Linked DNA regions of Homo sapiens: region 1 is linked to region 2. The links are contacts of gene promoters, found by promoter capture Hi-C in blood cells and fetal thymus (Javierre and others, 2016). All regions are on one chromosome and are shown on one strand. The core of a region is centred on a gene start or on the middle of the fragment in contact, and the rest is flanking DNA. Distances in the headings are between cores, read along the strand shown.

What was found. Contacts are between HindIII fragments. The CHiCAGO score rates a contact against its expected background, and 5 or more counts as called.
Region 1: a contact is called between a fragment that was not itself captured here and the fragment with the promoter of ZNF225 in region 2, in 7 of 17 cell types (naive B cells, non-activated CD4 T cells, naive CD8 T cells and 4 more). The highest score is 13.0, in naive B cells.

Annotation. Positions count from the first base shown.
Region 1 is chr19:37,179,904-37,182,773 of GRCh38, forward strand. It overlaps ZNF585B (zinc finger protein 585B), which reads right to left. Exons shown (of 5, transcript NM_152279.4): 5 at 1,676-2,870. Among named protein-coding and RNA genes, the nearest start is that of ZNF585A, 8.6 kb to the left of the region's middle. The HindIII fragment of the contact is 2,530 bases long and covers 45-2,574 here.
Region 2 is chr19:44,112,061-44,114,983 of GRCh38, forward strand. ZNF225 (zinc finger protein 225) reads left to right here and starts at 1,339. Exons shown (of 5, transcript NM_013362.4): 1 at 1,339-1,509. ZNF225-AS1 (ZNF225 and ZNF224 antisense RNA 1) reads right to left here and starts at 1,123. Exons shown (of 2, transcript NR_033341.1): 1 at 762-1,123. RefSeq lists a silencer at 1,050-1,400 and an enhancer at 1,093-1,792. The HindIII fragment of the contact is 4,811 bases long and covers 542-2,923 here.

The DNA.
Region 1 (2,870 bases), core at 60-2,559, 6.9 Mb before region 2:
ATGCCCAGAGAACACAGTTGGTGCAAAAGCCCAAAGCTGGAGAAAGCTTCCTTGGTGCTAAATCAGCCAGAATTGGGATTCTTGACAAACAATAAAAATATTGACCACCTCCAACTGCAGGCTGTCTGAACCCTATGACCCGTTATTATAGTTATAACTTTATACTATAAACATTAAATGTGATTATGTAAAAGTAGAAATAACTAAAATGTTACATGAAAGTTTGATATATAAAATATAAAAATTATATAATCATACGATACTATATATTATATAAAATGGAAACTATTTTGTAGTAGGTATAATATCATAATGTGCTATAACATACTGTCAACACAATATACAGTGTATGATATGCACACATAAAATAAAATACATAAATCTATATTTATAATCTAGTATCTAATAATTTTTCAAATGTCATTTAAACTATCACATAGTAAAATAAAAGAGTACTTCTGAGATTCATCCATGTTGCAGCCAGTGTCAATAAATCACTTCTTTTCATGTTGGGGTAGTATTCTATTGTATAGATGTTTAATTAGTCACCCACTGTTTAATTAGTCACCCACTGTTACATTTGGGTTGTTTCCTAATTTTGGCAATTATACAGTTGCTGTGAAATTTGAGTACCCGTGTTTTTATATAAACAATTTTTCACTTATCTAGGGCAAATACCTAGGAGAGGGATTGGTGGGTCATATGATAAGTGTATGTTTAACAGTATAAGAAGCTGTCAAGGCTGGGCATGGTGGCTCACGCCTGTAATCCCAGCATTTTGGGAGGCTGAGGCGGGCAGATCACCTGAGACCAGGAGTTCGAGACCAGCCTGACCAACATGGAGAGACCCTTAACTAAACCTCTACTAAAAACATATAAAATTAGCCAGGCGTGGTGGTGCATGCCTGTAATCCCAGCTACTTGGGCGGCTGATGCACGAGAAACGCTTGAACCTGGGAGGTGGAGGTTGTGGGGAGCCGAGATCATGCCATTGCACTTCAGCCTGAGCAATAAGAGCAAAACTTCATCTCAAAAAAAAAAAAAAAAGCTGCCAAACTTTTTGCCCAAAGTGAATGTAACATTTTACATTTCTACCAACAATGCATGAAAGTTTCCATTGCTCTGCATTGTTGCCAACTCTCAGCATTATGTCTTTATTTTTAGGCATGCTAAAAGGTGTGTACAGGTATCTCATTGTGGTTTTCATTTTCATTTTCTTGAAAATTAAAGATGTCGAGCATCTTTTCATCACCTTATTTTCCATTTTTATCTCATATAACAATATGGATAGATCGCAAATACATCACATTAAATGAAACAAGTCCGACTCAAAAAGAGAGATACATACACATATATAAACAGACAGAGACACACACAGGATGTCTCCATTTATACAACATGTGGAAAAGGCAAAATTATACAGACAGAAAATGGGCTTGTGATCATCAAGGCCTGGGGGTGGGCAAAGGGATGGACTAAAAAGTAATAGGAGGAAATGTAGGGAAGTGAGGGAACTGTTCTCTGTCTTGACTGTGGTATTGACTGCATGATGTAATTGTCAAAACTTTGAGAATTCCACACTAAAAAGGGTGAATATTACTGTATGTAAATTATACCTCAATAAATACGACCTTAAAATATTACAGTCATGTTCACACAAAAACCTGCACACAGGTGTTTATAGCATCTTTATTCATAATCAACAAAACTTGGAAGCAATTAAGGTGTCCTTCAGTAGGTGAATGGATAAATAAGTCATGGTACTTCCAGACAATAGCATATTATTCAATGAGAAAAAAAAAAAAAAAAGAGCTAGCAAGCTACGAAAAGACATGGAAGAAACTTAAATCCACATTACTAAGTGAAACAAATCAATCTGAAAAGGCTGCATACTTTATGGTTCAGAGGCAAAATTATGGAGACAAAAGAAAATAGCCAGGAGTTTAGAGGAGTAGGCGAAACACAGAGGATTATTGGGACAGTGAAACGGCTCTTTATCCTTCTGTAATAATGCATACATGTCATTATTCATTTGTCTCAACCCACAGAATGCACATCAAGACTGAACCCTAATTAAACCATGGACTTTGGCCGATAGTGTCAATGTAGTTTCATCAATTGTAACAAATGTACCACTCTGAAGGGGGATGTTGATGATGGGGGAGGCTGTGTATATGTGAGGGTAGGGGATATATGGGAAATCTCTGTACCTTCTGCCCCATTTTGCTGTGAACCTAAAATTTCTCTAAAAACTAGTCTTTTATATAAATGGGCATACATATACATATATATGTCAGCACTAAAATATCACGTTACAATAAATATAAAGGAGAAATTATTGAAAGTCATGTACAGTGAAATGTGTTTTCCTCCATATTTCCTGGAATTCATGAGGAGTGATACACTTAGGAGTAAGGTAAAATGGGAATAATGAAGGGGACCAGACCTTGTTCTAGGGTATGTTAGGAAGGAAGAGGTGATCTCCAGGCACCCTCCTGAGAGTCAGCTGACATTGTCCTAAGTTGGGGATAATGTTGTATCACAAAATATCCAAAACTGAAGGAAGAATAGTGAAGCTTCAGATACAGTGCTGGATGAGGTGAAGGGAGGTAATGGGTGAGCAGACATTGGTCTAAGATGTTGAGCAGCATGTGATGGGCCATCAGATACTGTGAAGAAGTGAGGAAGCAGAGCTAATGATGGCTCAGTAGACATTGATCTAAGGTGAGGTAATGGGATGTGTCACCAAGCACTGCCCAACTAGGGCTTGGGAATTAAAGGGGCATTGTGGCCCTGCTTCTTTGACTATGTTCTATCCTTTGGGCCCCATCTTCACCTCCCCATACTGCCCTTCTTAAAGGTGAAACCAT
Region 2 (2,923 bases), core at 89-2,588:
TTTTACAGACCAGTTTGAGGAGGCAGTGTCTGATTTACATAGGGGTCATAGATTGGTTCGATCAGTTATGACGTTTACATAGTGCGTGGGGAAGGCTGGTCGCCCCACCCTAATCTTCTTATGCAAATAGGCTTCCCAGTTGATTGGCCCATCTTGCCAGCTTCTTACTGTGCACGTGGCTGACAAAGAGAAGGGAAGATGGAGCCGCCATCTTTAACATGATTGGCACAACTGCTGGTATCTATGTCTGCGGCAGCTGGATTTTACAGGCTGCTCTTCCTTAGGAAGGGAAATAATTTGGGGCTGCTTTTCATTAAAAAGAAAAGCCTTACCGAGGGCTCCCATACCCTATCTGCCTAAGTGATGGCTTCTTAACTCGTATATATTAACAACACTGTATTCGTACTAGATGCCATTGCCATTGAATTATGTGCCTTAAAATAATTTTGTTTTGTGAATTACACCTCAAAAATATTTTTTAAATAATAAAACGACCACGTTAAAAACGTTTTGCATAGCGAAAAACAAGTCAAAGGAAAAAAGCTTTTTGGTTGAGCAATATTTGATACAATGTTAATATGAGTATGTAAATAATACTTAACGGAGGGGAAAAAACTAAACACTCAATAGAAATGTGGGCAAACTATTTGACCAATTCACAAAGACTATAATAGTGGCAACGGAAAATATGCACGGATGTTCCACTTTATTTACAAAAGAACAAATACAAATTAAAACTACATTTAGAAACCATTTCTTACCATTAGATTAGCAAAACTTAACTCCTCGAAGACTGTGTCTTCTCGCTTGTTCCCTTTCCAATAACACTCCTGTTATCATTGGAGGCGTTTAGACTTCAGAAATTCCTGTCTATTCAGTATTTTCTGTCCTGGACCAGGGAGAGAGAAGGACGACTCTCAGGATAACAGTTCACATTCCCCACTAGGCAGGCGCTCGTGGCTTTGGGATTCGTTCCCAGTGGGCACCTCGGAGTGGCAACGCTTCCCCCTGAAGAATGAGATTTTGAGCGTTTTTCCTTCAGCATTCGGAGGAGTGTAATCCAAATGCTCTGTGGAGTCGTACACACTGGCTCCAGAAGGAGGATACAAGCAATTCTGGGAATGGTAGTCCAGACGCTCAGTGGAGTAGCGGTCAGCTTGGCTCCGGCAGGCGAATCAGGGGATTTCTGGGAAATGTAGTCCAGACGCTCAGTGGAGTCTCGGTCAATTTGACTCCGGCAGGTGGATCCCAGGGAATTCTGGGAAGTGTAGTCCAGACGCTCGGGGTCGTCGCGGTCAGTTTGTCTCAGGAATTCTGGGAAGTGGAGTCCAGACACTCAGTGGAGTAGCGGGCCACTTCCGCTCCGTTACTGTGAGGTTGCTGCAGTTTTGTCCCTGGTAGTTTGGGTCAGTTCCGCGAGACCCTTCTGAATTTCCTGGACCTACGCATTGGATCCTTAACGAACTGGTGATCGAATTAGGGGAAAAGAAACCTCGTCGGAGAGCAGAGGTTTGGCGGAGCGGGGCCGCTGTTTTCGTTCTCGTCAGTGGAGCCTTCTTGGGCTTGGGGCTCTCCTCGCGTCCCCGGGGTGTTTGGGACTTGGTCGGGTCGCGTCTCGCCTGGTTTTAGGGTCTCCGGGGCTCTGAGCTCGCCCACTCGGCCTCCCTGCACCCCACGCGCGTGGCCACTTCCTCGCGATAAAACGCTGGGATGTTACTTAATCTCCTTGGGTCTCCCGTTACAGTTCTTTAAGATGGGGAGTTTAGGACCATCCTAATAGAATCGTTTTGGGAACTGAAAGCGGTAACACAAATGAGAGCCTTAAAGCAGCCCCTGTCACTTGGTGACTGGTGGTCTCTTGTTAATTTCCCACGAAGCCTGTCAGGTCCCCGGGTGGGGTGAAACTCCAGCTGCAGGGGCACCGGCCCTTCTCCCTGATTCCTGCAAGACGCTGGGTGATCCCGGACGCCTTCTGACCTCTCTTTTAGGAAGGCGAGGGTTGCATCCACTTCCAGGAGGGGAGAGGAGCATTTAACTTTTATGGGGCACGGCGACCACGGTCAGAGTGTTTCACAGCCTTCTCCTTACCCAGCCCGACCTTTCCAAAAGAGCTGCAGGGAGGGACTTCTTGGCTTCTGAGGGCAAAGCTCTACGTGAGTGATCCTTGGCTTTTTTCTTTGACAGAGATGCTCACCCCAACCGAGAGTGTATAGGATGTGTCTTCGGGCATGGGTGTTGCTTTCAGTTGTCATGTTTTTCTAGTCTTTAATCTTGAAAGATAGCATAGCTTTCATCGTTTTTTCTTGGTATTTTATCCTTGTTATTTTTGAAGAGTATAGATGAAGTTATTTTGGTCAAAGATGTTCATTTGGAGTTTTTCTGATGTATTTCACGTTTAACTTCAAAATATGCATTTTTTGCTGGAATACCACAGAAGTGGTAAATCTCTCTCTCTCTTTTTTTTTCTTGAGACGGAGTTTCGCTCTTGTCGCCCAGGCTGTAGTGCATGGCACGATCTCAGCTCATTGCAACATCCACCTCCTGGGTTCAAGCTATTCTCCTGCCTCAGCCTCCCAAGTAGCTGGGATTACAGGTGCCTGCCACCACATCCGGCTAATTTTTGTATTTTTAGTAGAGAAGGGATTTCACCATGTTGGCCAGGCTGGTCTCAGACTCCTGACCTCAGGTGATTCAACCGCCTTGGCCTCCCAAAGTGTGGGATTACAGGCATGAGCCACCGTGCCCAGCCTGAAGTGGTAAATTTCTTATTGCAACATAACAGGGGCCATATGTCAGTTTGTCACTTCATTGGTGATCTCAACTTTGTTCACTTGGCTAAAGTCATGTTTGTCAGATTTCCGCATTGTAAAATTATTTTGAATTTTTTTTTTTACCCCAGGAACACAGATTCAAGTTGCTCTCA